Regions from separate parts of the Homo sapiens genome. Here region 2 is linked to region 1. Evidence: promoter capture Hi-C in 16 types of primary human blood cells and fetal thymus (Javierre and others, 2016). All regions are on one chromosome and are shown on one strand. The core of a region is centred on a gene start or on the middle of the fragment in contact, and the rest is flanking DNA. Distances in the headings are between cores, read along the strand shown. Region 1 holds the start of LINC02090 (long intergenic non-protein coding RNA 2090). Region 2 holds the start of PLD6 (phospholipase D family member 6).

The links. The method cuts DNA at HindIII sites, captures the fragments that hold promoters and counts their contacts. A CHiCAGO score of 5 or more calls a contact.
Region 2: a contact is called between the fragment with the promoter of PLD6 here and the fragment with the promoter of LINC02090 in region 1, in 10 of 17 cell types (total B cells, M2 macrophages, M0 macrophages and 7 more). The highest score is 11.2, in total B cells.

What each region holds. Positions count from the first base shown.
Region 1 is chr17:16,985,631-16,991,088 of GRCh38, forward strand. It overlaps LINC02090 (long intergenic non-protein coding RNA 2090), which reads left to right and starts at 2,699. Exons shown (of 3, transcript NR_146886.1): 1 at 2,699-2,893; 2 at 3,285-3,420; 3 at 4,479-4,546. RefSeq lists enhancers at 1,359-2,189, 2,822-3,041. The HindIII fragment of the contact is 6,040 bases long and covers 1,721-5,458 here.
Region 2 is chr17:17,204,057-17,209,514 of GRCh38, forward strand. It overlaps PLD6 (phospholipase D family member 6), which reads right to left and starts at 2,277. Exons shown (of 2, transcript NM_178836.4): 1 at 1,804-2,277. The coding sequence starts at 2,230. RefSeq lists enhancers at 1,296-1,415, 2,471-3,310 and silencers at 1,936-2,055, 2,076-2,125, 2,246-2,495, 2,536-2,585. The HindIII fragment of the contact is 11,264 bases long and covers 1-3,609 here.

The DNA.
Region 1 (5,458 bases), core at 1,449-3,948:
ACAGCCCATTGAGGGTGATCCTAGTGAGGGCTCAGAAGAGGACAGCTGTAGGGAAAGCTGGAATCTCCTTAGAGATTACTTGAGTGTTCATGAAGAGAATGCTGGTAGAAATATGGACAGTACAGGCCATTCTGATGAGGTCTCAGATGGAAATGAGGAACAGGGTATTAAAAACAGGAGGGAAAGTGATACTTGTTCCAGAGTGGAAAAGAACTGGGCTGAATTATGTCCATGTGCTAGGACTTCATGGAAGGCAGAACTTAAGAGTGATGAACTATGACTAGGCACAGTGGCTCATGCCTGTAATCCTAGCACTTTGGGAGGCCATGACAGGAGGATCATTTGAGGCTAGGAGTTCAAGGCCAACCTGGGCAACATAAGAAGACCCTGTCTCTACAAAATTTTTAAAAAATTAGCAGGCATGGTGGCATATGTCTGTAGACCCAGCTACTCAGGAGGCTGAGGCAGGAGGATCACTTGAACACAAGGGTTCAAGGCTATAGTGAGCTATGATCGTGCCACTGCACTCCAGCCTGGGTGACAGAGTGAGACCCTGTATCAAAAAAACAAAAAAAAAATTGAAAAATTAATGAACTAGATATGTGGCAGAAAAAACCTCTAAGCAGCAAAGTGTGCAGGATGCTGTACATCCTCTCTTAGCTGCTCATAGTAAAATGCGAGAGGACAAATGATTTAAAGACGGAATGTATAACCACAAGCGAAGCAGAACACAAAGATTTGGAAAATTCTCAGCCTGGCCGCATAAAGAATAAAAAGGTGTGTTAAGGAGAAAATACCAAGGGTATGGCCAAGAGCCCATGTGATAAGGAGATGAGTATGGCTAGAAAGAAGCCAGGTGCTGTTCATCAAGACAGTGGGAGAAAGACTCTGAAGGGATTTGAGAGATCTGGATGACTCATCTCATCATAAGCCCAGGGCCCTTGGAGCTTGAGGGCAGAATGATTTGGGGGGATGGGCCAGGGGCTGGCTGCCTTGGGTCTCTACTCCTTGTGTTTTGGCACGATGCTCCTTGGCCACCCCAGCTGTGGCTCAAATGGGCCCAGGTGTGGCTTGGGCTGCTGCTCCAAAGGGTGCAAGCTGTGAGCCTTGGCAGCATGCATGTGTTGCTAATTCTGCAGGCACACAGAGTGCAAGAGCTTTGGGGGTATGGCTGCCTCCCCTTGAATTCAAAGAATGCCACAGAGGGATAGCCCCCATTAGGGCAATGCCCACCAGAATTGTGAGGTTGGGTCTAAAACTAAGACAGGCCCTAAGTACCCGGAGTCATCCTTGACTTCTCTTTCTCTCCCTGTCTCCTTCCCTTCCACCAATCCATTAGCAAACACTGTTGGCTTTACGTTCAAAATATGACCAAAATCATCTGAGCACTTACCACCTTCAGGCCTGCTTCAAGCCACCCCCTACCAGCCCCTTCTCAGAGGCCCCCCCACCCCCAGGTGCCATGTACTCTGTTAGCACCTGAGCCACAGCTGAGCCCTCCACTGCCCAGGAACCTCTGCCACTCCCCAGCTGCTCTGACTAAACACTGGATCTTTATAATGGCCCTGGGCCTTGAACCTGGGCCTTCTCTCCCTGAGCCCTCTGCCACTCTCCCCTGCTCACACCAGGCCAATGCTGACAACTTCCCCTCTGTGCTGTTCCGCTGCCTGGAATGCTCTCTGCCCAGATGTGTGCTTGGGTGACTGCTTGCCTCCCAGGAAGCTTGCCCAAATCTTGCCTCCTCAGTTAGGACAGCCCCGGCCATTCATCTCAAAGGCAAGGGGCACAGAGTATGGGCTCAGTACACGTATGGGGGAGGAGGGAGGGAGGGAGGTGGAGAGGGAGGAGGAGGAAGGGAGGAATGCACAGGCCATTTCATTCCAGCGAGAACAGGTCACAAGGCACACCCAAAAGCAACCCGGGTGGTACAAAACTAAAGATGACCGAAGGCCACCATGAACAGGCGGGAGAGGGCAGCTCTGTTCATCACCCCTGGGGCAGATGTGGAGACTCCAGATGTGTCACATCTGGACAGCCCCTTCTCTGCCCCTTCCTACCCCCTGCCCCGCCCATCCACCAGGGGTTCAAGACAATACAGGAGACAGTTGTCCTCCTCCCAGGACCCTGAGAATGGCTGGGGCTGGGGAAGATGCTCAGTGGCCTTTGAAACTCAGCTTAATTTTGCGCCAAACGGGTGACCCTGCCACCCCCATGAAAAGGCAGAGCACTAGAATGAGAGTCCAGACTATGGACTCTAGTCCTCTTGATGTCCCAAGCTCAGCATGTGACCTCAGACTAGGCACTTAGCCTCTGTGGGCCTCAGTTTCCCCTTCTGTCCAAATCAGGGGGGTTGGAATGTGGTCACCCAACTAAAAGCCCACTCTATACACTGAGCGTCTACAAATACAAGGAACACAGAGTTGATTTGTTAGGAAACCCATCACGTCCATCCTGACCTAGATGGGTTTCACTCTGACGTTGTGCAGTCAAATGCTCTACCCCTGAGCTACACCCCCTACTCTGACGTTGTGACCGCTGCACCTGGGCTGATTGTACCCCAGACCAGGGGCAATGTCACCTGGCACCACCCTTTCCCACTACTCTTCCCTCTCGAGAGAGACTGGGGTTTCACACAGAGCAGTCGAGCCCCATAAATAGCAGCTGGCCACTCACAGGCCAACCCTCCCAGGCCCCAAAAAGGAAGTGAGAGACAGGCAGACACTTCTGTTCTTCCTGCAGAAAGTGCTGCTTCTGCAGTGACTCGTCAGATGCTCCCCAGAGCCCAGCACAGACCCGGCTCCACCCACTTCTGTGGGTTGGCCAGATGAGTGAGAAACACAGGCACAGCCAACGAGAGGGAGCTGAGGCCGGACCCAGGAGTCTTTTTCCTATGGTAGGGGATATCTCTGTGTGAGGAAGCCCCATGGGGAGTCCTTGGGTGAGTTGCCAGGAGGAGGTGACTCAGGATAAATTCCCTTAGGAGGTGCCTTCACTTCTAGATCCAAAGAGTCATCCCCTACCTCCTTAGGGTAAAACTAGATTTTGAGTATCACGGTGTTTGTGGATAACCTGGCCCCAGTGAGTCCCCTTGCAAGGGCCTTTGGAGATGCTTCTGCACATGGACACTAGGAGCCATGAGCAGAGACAGTCCCTGCAGCAGCATCTGAAACCATGAACCCCAGGAAGACAACGTGGCACTGTTTTTGTCAGCCCTGCCTACGCTTTGCTAAAGTCTGTCCATTCAGCTCTTTTTCATGTTGACCGCACCACTGTTTCCTGCCCAGGTCCTGCCTGATATAGTAACCGGGAAAGGGATGAATGTGATGCAATGTGCTCTTGTAATGGAGCATCACAGAACAGGTCAAAGACACAAGCCACACAGCAACGAGCGCGGACAGGCAGGGCAGAGCACAGCTGCACGTAAGTACATTTTAAACACGGACCCCAACATAGCACTAGACATTGTTCATAATGCCTCCCTACATATGTAAAACACAAAAGTGGATTGGAGACACACAGAGGGGAGACTGCAGGCACCTCAGCCTCTCATCCCTCTTCTCATCAGGCCATTTCTGCTCTGCACCAGCGGTTCTCAACCAAAGTGCTTCTGCCTTCACTGTCAGGAGACATGTGGCCATGCTGGGGACATCTGGGGTGTCTCAATGATGGGGGTGGGAGGGATTGCTACTGGCATCTGGGGGTAGAGGCCAGGGATGTTCCCAACCATCCTAGGATGCAAGGGACAGCCCCACCACAAAGCAGGTGTGGCCCCAGCTCGTTCACAGCTGTCTACTTCCTCCTGGCGTAGCTGTGCAACTTGTACAACCACAAGCAACACGTATTTGTTTTACAAGGAACTCACTGGAGACAGCACCCAGTCTGAGAACTTTGTACTATGGAAGGGTTTTGTTTTTGAAAACCGAAATTACAGAATAAATTACAGAGAGAGAGAGAGCAAGAGCGAGAGCGAGAGAGTAAGAGAGAGAGAGAAACTTCACCATATGGGTTCAAATGAGCAACCTGGGTATTCTTGGCTCCTGGTGGAAAGGGAGGTGCTAATCTCAGGTGGGCCCACCTGCTGTGGCATGGGGCTTGGTTTTGAGCTGCTCCTTCCACTCCTGGCACAGGAGGAGCAGATGTTTAGGGCGGCCACGTGACTAACTGGGCAGCCAAGACCAAGACTCCTGTGCACGCTGAAACTCACGTTCTCAGTGGAAAGGAAAGATCTGCTGACCGCTCACTCAGGATGAGGGGTGTGGTGAGTCAGCCGTGGGGCCTCTGTGTGGCCCAGACCAAACAGCTGGTTTTGGGCATGGCAGAAGTCAATGAGGCAAGGCCCTGATGGGTAGCGCTGACCTGAGTGCTACCTGGCTAAAGCCAAGGAGGAGCCATGCGGCAGAATCCGTTCATGCAGCTCGCATGCTACAAGTGGCTGCTAGTGTCTTGTGGAGATTTAAACTTAAAATCTTGCTTCTCAGCCCCATCAGGTACATTTCAGGTGCTCAGCAGTGCACTTGTGCTTTGTGGCTGCCTTCTGGACAGCATGGATGCAGACCGCCTCCAACCATCCCAGAAAGTTCCATCACAGGCACTGAGCCAAAACTGGCCATGGTGATGGAGCTGCCAGGAGGGCGAAGCCCAATCTCACTTTGGTCAACATGGTCAACATGTCAGGGAAGGGTATCCAGGGACAGGTGCCCAGGGGCGGGTGCCCAGCTGCAGAAAGGTCTTCAGGGAACCTCCCTGCTCAGAGGCACTCTCTCAATGTCATCTCCTGCCTCCCAGCCCAATCACACTACATCCTGTCTTGGCTGCTCTCCTCCACTCTGCCCCAAGCCTGAAGCCATCTGTCCTTCCTCTAAGCTCCAGGAGTCTCTGGGAAGTGTTTATGGGTTAACTCTGTTGGAATGCACAGGGATTGCTCAGAATAAAGCTCACCAGCCTTTGTTGGCCTGGAGGCCCTGCCTGCCCTGCCTCTACTGCCTCTCTGTCCTCCCCCCTGGCTCTCTCCACCCCAGCCTAGGTTCCCCAAACACATCAGGCAGGGCCTGCTTGCGGCCTTTGCAGCTGCTGTTCCCTCTGCTCAGAATGCTCTTCCCCAACGCCCCCGGTCATCCCCCTGCCCCCCACTGCTTCAGTCAGATATCTCAAATATCACCTCATCAGAAAGCCTCCCATTCTAGCCGAAAGAGCTCAGGTATATGCACACTCACACACACACACACACACCCCCACACACATTCACACATGCACCACACTCACACACTCTGATTCTCACACACACTCACACACACCCTACATGCACACCCCACACGCCCCACAGGCACACTCTCCACACACTCACACACCCCACAGGCACACCCCCCAAACACACACACCCCACACACCCCACAGGCACCCCCCACACACTCACATACTCCACAGGCACACCCCCCAAACACACACCCCACACACCCCA
Region 2 (5,458 bases), core at 1,027-3,526, 220 kb after region 1:
CGTCCTGTCGGCACAGCCCTCCAAACACATTCCTCCACACGGTGGGCAATGTAAAACCCCACCATCGCCCACACCTCCTGCCTCCGCTGGGATCCACTGCCCACCTCCCCGTCCCCTCCCCGCGGCCTGCCACCTCTGGCCACAGGGGACTTCCTGCCCTTCCTCAAAAGGAAGTCAGTCTGTGACCCAGGGCGACTGTGCTGCTGCCCCTTCCAGCCGCATGCCTCTCCCTCCGAACAGTCCACTGGTGTCAGCAAGGTCCCTGCCCTGAGTGTCACTGCCCCTGGGCAGCTGACCTGGCCCACGCCACTTCCTCCCACACCACTGCCTCCTTACCCTGCTTTATGAAGTTTTCTTGGCCCTTCTCAGTGCCCTAAATGAAATATTCATGACTTAGTTGGCATCTCCGTGGCAACCTGGCCTTGTGCCCTTGTGCCCTAGGATGTTCCAGCTCCTCACAAATACTGGCACAGAGGGGACATTCCTTGAACAGTGAATGCCACTGGACAGCCTCGAAGTCAGCGAGGATGCTGGGAGGCCATCCCAGAGGGGATCCGATGGGACCTTGGTCTAGGGGCCCTTGAAGGGTCTTCACCAACCTCAGCTTCTACGACTGTAAAAGCAACTCAAACAGAACTGTACTGTGCATGCCTGGAGGTCCCCAAACCTCCCGTTAAAATGACCAACACATGGGAGGACAGCTCTTGTGGCTGCCCCAAAGAGAAGGAGACATCCTCAATATGAAAACCACGTGCCCCACTCTGCTCCCACATGGCGTGCAACATGCCCCACACCACCCAGAGCAGGGAGGGACCCTGGCTGACTCTGGAGAGGCTGCTCTGAGGCCCAAGTCAACAAGAGGCTATGGCTGTGCAGAAGGAACAGCGCGGCGGTGACCACTGCCCAGCCTGGACAATTCCCAGGGCTCCACACATCTCTCGGTCACTGCGACCACCAGTATTATCAGATCCAACCGTTGCACGTGCAGGCGTGACTTTCTGGGTGCCTGAGTGATGGAGACAGAGACAGGCCCAAGAGTCTGTGAGTGCAGATACACAAAAGGCAACAGCAGGCTGGGCCGCCGAACTGGGCCAGGATGGACTGAGAATCCTCAGGTGGGACAAGGATCCCAATTATTCACATTTCCTGGTCCCTTCTGTCCCCACCCCATGAGAGAGGCGCCCCCGCCAGAAATATGTGTTCCCCTCCTTTTGCAGCTGGGAAAACAACCGAATGTCCTGGCGCTGCTTTCTAGAACATGTTCAGGTCTCCCAGAGCCCAGTGGCCTGAGATTCACTGGGCAGCAGGTGGCCGCCTCTCCCCAGAGCCCTTCAGTCTGGAAGTCCAAGCACAACCCTGGCGTCCAGCTCCCCTGCCACCAGGATCCAGGTTACCAGAGGCCGTCCGGGGATCTCCGGCAGCGTAGGAGGGCGGGCCCGGGCTGCAGCAGTCACGAAAACTCCGCCGGCGGCGCCCGAGGAGTTGCTAGGGGAATCTGCTCCGCCTCTAACCCGGCACACGCAGGCCCACCTGCTTCCAGCATGCCGGGACAGTTCACTGAGAGAACCGCCCCCACCGCGGAGGCACCGAGGGTCCGGCTCGCTTATGCCCACGCAGCCGGCTAGACCTTCTGTGGGGGCTCTGCTTTCTCCGCGTTACACCACCCCGACCCCACAAGGCCACGAGGAAAGTAAATGAGGCCTCAGCCCGTCCCCAGACCCCCTCCCCTAAGTGTCCACCTTTGCGCCTAGGACCCCGCGTGGGCCAAGCCGGCCTTCTCCGCTTGGACCCCGCCGGGCCTACCTGCCTTGCGCAGCAGACCGATTTGCGAGCCGTTGAGGGCCATGTAGTCGCAGTCGGTGACGACCCGCACTCGCACCCCACGCTGGTGCAGCAACTGCACGGCGCGGCCCAGCTGCGGGCTGGAGAAGGCGAACAGGCAGAGATCCAGGCTGGCGCGGGCGGCCAGCAGGGCACGCAGCAGGCGGCTTAGCGCGCTCTCGCCGTGGGGCAGGCCGCACGGGCAGCCCTCGGGGAGCTCGGCCAGCTCCGCGCCCGGAGCCCGCAGCAGGGCCTCGGTACAGGTCACCTGAGACGGGAAGAACAGCGCCTCGCGCCGCGGCCGCCGCCGCCTGGACCGCAGCCAGCGCAGCACCCAAGGCAGCGCCTCCAGAGTCAGAGCCAGGCCCACAGCCGCCGCGGCCGCCACCTGCCAACTCAACCGTCCCATGCCGCCGCTAATCCGGGACCCACAGCCACGCCGCCGCAGCGGAGTCTGCGCGCCCCCAGCCCTAGACCGCCAGGCCACGCCCCCGTCACGCGCCGCCAGCGGCCATGTGCCAGGCCACGCCCAGCCCCCCATGGCCACGCGCCAGGCCACGCCCTATCACGTCCTGCCAATTGCCACGCACCAGGCCACGCCCCCGTCACGCAGCGCCAACGGCCACGTGCCAGGCCACGTGCCAGGCCACGCCCAGCACCCATGGCCACACGCCAGGCCACGCCCCCGTCACGCCCCACCAACGGCCACGTGCAAGGTCACGCCCTCAGCCCCCGAGGGCCACGCGCTAGGCCGCGCCATGCCCCCACAACTGTCACGCACCAAGCTGAACCCACGCCTCCCATCAGCCCGCCCCCAACCCTCAACAGGTGACCACGCCTCCCTCCACGCGCCAGGCCACGCCCCCTGCCACAGACACCCTCCACCCCCCAACGCCAGGCTGTGCCCCCCATTTTCCTTCCAGCCAGGCGCTCGGCCACGCCCTCCAGGTTCCACCTCCCACCACGTGCCAAGCCACGTCCCCAAGCCCGCGCCACCAGGCAGCACCTGCACACCCGCGGGCCACGGGCCCTAGCACACCCGTCACCTGCCCAGGCCAGAGACCGCTCTCCGCGCTAGAAGCCACAGCAACCCCGGCTTTCCTCGCATGGAGCACAGCAGAGCTGCTCTGGAAATGTGGGGTCACACCTTCACTGTCTTCTCGGGAGCAGCTAGGCTGGGCTGGGGAATGACCTGGGAACACAGATAATCAGGGAATCAACACAGCTGGAGGCAGCATTGGAACCCAGCATACTGGAGGCGGTGTCGGCCCAGAGGTTTTTTCCTAGCCCAAGAGGTTTTTTCCAGCCGGCGTTGTTGGAAGGCCTGCCCTGCTTTAAGCATAAACAGAGGAAGAGACTAAGGCAGCCGAGGGCACTGGGCCGGGGGCATAGGGAAACGGGGCAATGTGGTGGTCTGGGCTGGATCCTGGAACCGAAAGAAGACATTCACGGAAAAACTGGTGAGAGCCAAATAAAGTCTGGAGCTTAATCGCATTGTACCAATGTCAGTTTCTTAGCTTTGACAAATGTATGAAAGGAATGTAAAAGGTTAACAAAGGAAGCTGCGTGGGGGTAAATGGATCTCTCTGTTCTATATTCGAAACTTTTCTGTAAAGCAAATTATTCTAAATTAAAAGTTTATTAAAATATTAAACTTGCACCTTCCATATGATCCAGCTATCCCACTCCTAGGAGAAAGGGCGGGATCCATTAACACAAGCACGTGTCCTGGCAGGCGTATGTGCCTAGAACAACCCAAAAAGGCGTCAGCAGGTAAACAGGTAAATAAGCTTTTGTATATCTGTACAAGGGAATGCTATTTAGCAATAAAATAGAATGAAGTGGCCTGGCACGGTGGTTCATGCCTGTTATCCCAGAACTTTGGGAGGCTGAGGCAGGAGGACAGCTTGAGTTCGGGAATTCGAAACCAGCTTGGCCAACATGGTGAAACACTGTCTCTACCAAAAAATACAAAAATTAGCTGAGTGCGCTGACGTGCCTGTGATCCCAGCTACTCGGGAGGCTGAGGTGGGAGAATCGCTTGAGCTCTGGAGACTAAGGTTGCAGTGAGCCAAGATCATGCCATTGCACTCCAGCCTGGGTGACACAGCAAGACCCTATCCCCCCCCCACCAAAAAAAAAAAAAAACAGTACTCACATGTGCTACGACGTGGATGAATTTCATTAATATTGAGTGGGAAAAGCCAGACAAAAAGAGTACATACTGTATGATTCCATTTACATAAAATTCTAGAAAATGCAAACTAGATTGAGGGAAAGCAGACCAGTGTAGCCTGGAGGCCAACAAAGCCACAAGGAAGTGGAGTGATGGATGTGTGCTTATCGGGTTGACTGTGGTGGTTTCACAGGTATATACATATGTCAAATTGTATGGTGTAAATAACTAAAAATGTATGTCAGTGATTATGTCAATAAAATTCTTTTTTTTTTTTTTAAGACGGAGCCTCGTTCTTTCGCCCAGGCTGGTGTGCAGTGGTGCGATCTCGGCTCACTGCAACCTCTGCCTCCGGGGTTCAAGTGAGTCTCTGCGTCAGCCTCCCGAGCAGCTGGGATTACAGGCGCCCACCACCACACCCGGCTAATTTTTGTATTTTTAGTAGAGATGGGGTTTCACCATCTTGGCCGTGCTGGTCTCGAACTCCTGACCTCGTGATCCACCTGCCTCGGCCTCCCAAAGTGCTGGGATTACAGGCGTGAGCCACCGCACCCGGCCTTCTTTTTTTTTTTTTTGAGATGAAGTCTCGCTCTGTCGCCCAGTCTGGAGTGCAGTGGCACGATCTCGGCTCACTGCAACCTTCACCTCCTGGGTTCAAGCAATTCTCCTGCCTCAGCCTCCCAAGTAGCTGGGACTACAAATGCACACCACCACATCGGCTAAATTTTTGTTTTTGTATTTTTAGTAGAGACGGGGTTTCATCGTGTTAGCTAGGATGGTCTCGATCGCCTGACCTCGTGATCAGCCTGCCTCGGCCTCCCAAAGTGCTGGAATTACAGGTGTGAGCCACCGTGCCTGGCGAATAAAATTCTTAACAAAGAAAAAGAACACTTGAGTTTAGTGCTGGCTCCCAGGCTTCCTAGCTGCATGGTCTAGGGCAAATTGATTCATCTCTTCTGAGCTTCACTTTCCTCATCTAAAACGATAATGAGAGGAGGGACTTGGAGTTGTGGAGGTATAAAGAAGGACTCAAATCCCTCCAGAGAGGGATAAACAAAAATAAAACTGGGGGAAAACAGTTTTCAAAAACAGCCACTTCAGGGCTGGAAATCTACCAAAGGCAGACAACAAAATGAGAAGCTTTATTTGATTTTTATTTATTTTTTGTCTTCCAGTTTCTATTTTTAACTTTGTCGGTATATAGTAGGTATATATATTTATCGGGTACATGAGATATTTTGGTACAGACATGCAATTTGTAATAATCACATCAGGGTAAACAGGATATCCATCACCTTAAGCATTTATCCTCTTTTGTGTTACAACATTTAGTTATTAGTTTATTTATTTATTTATTTATTTGAGACGGAGTCTTGCTCTGTTGCCCAGGCTGGAGTGCAGTGGTGCGATCTCAGCTCACTTTGCAAGCTCTGCCTCCCAGGTTCACGCCATTCTCCTGCC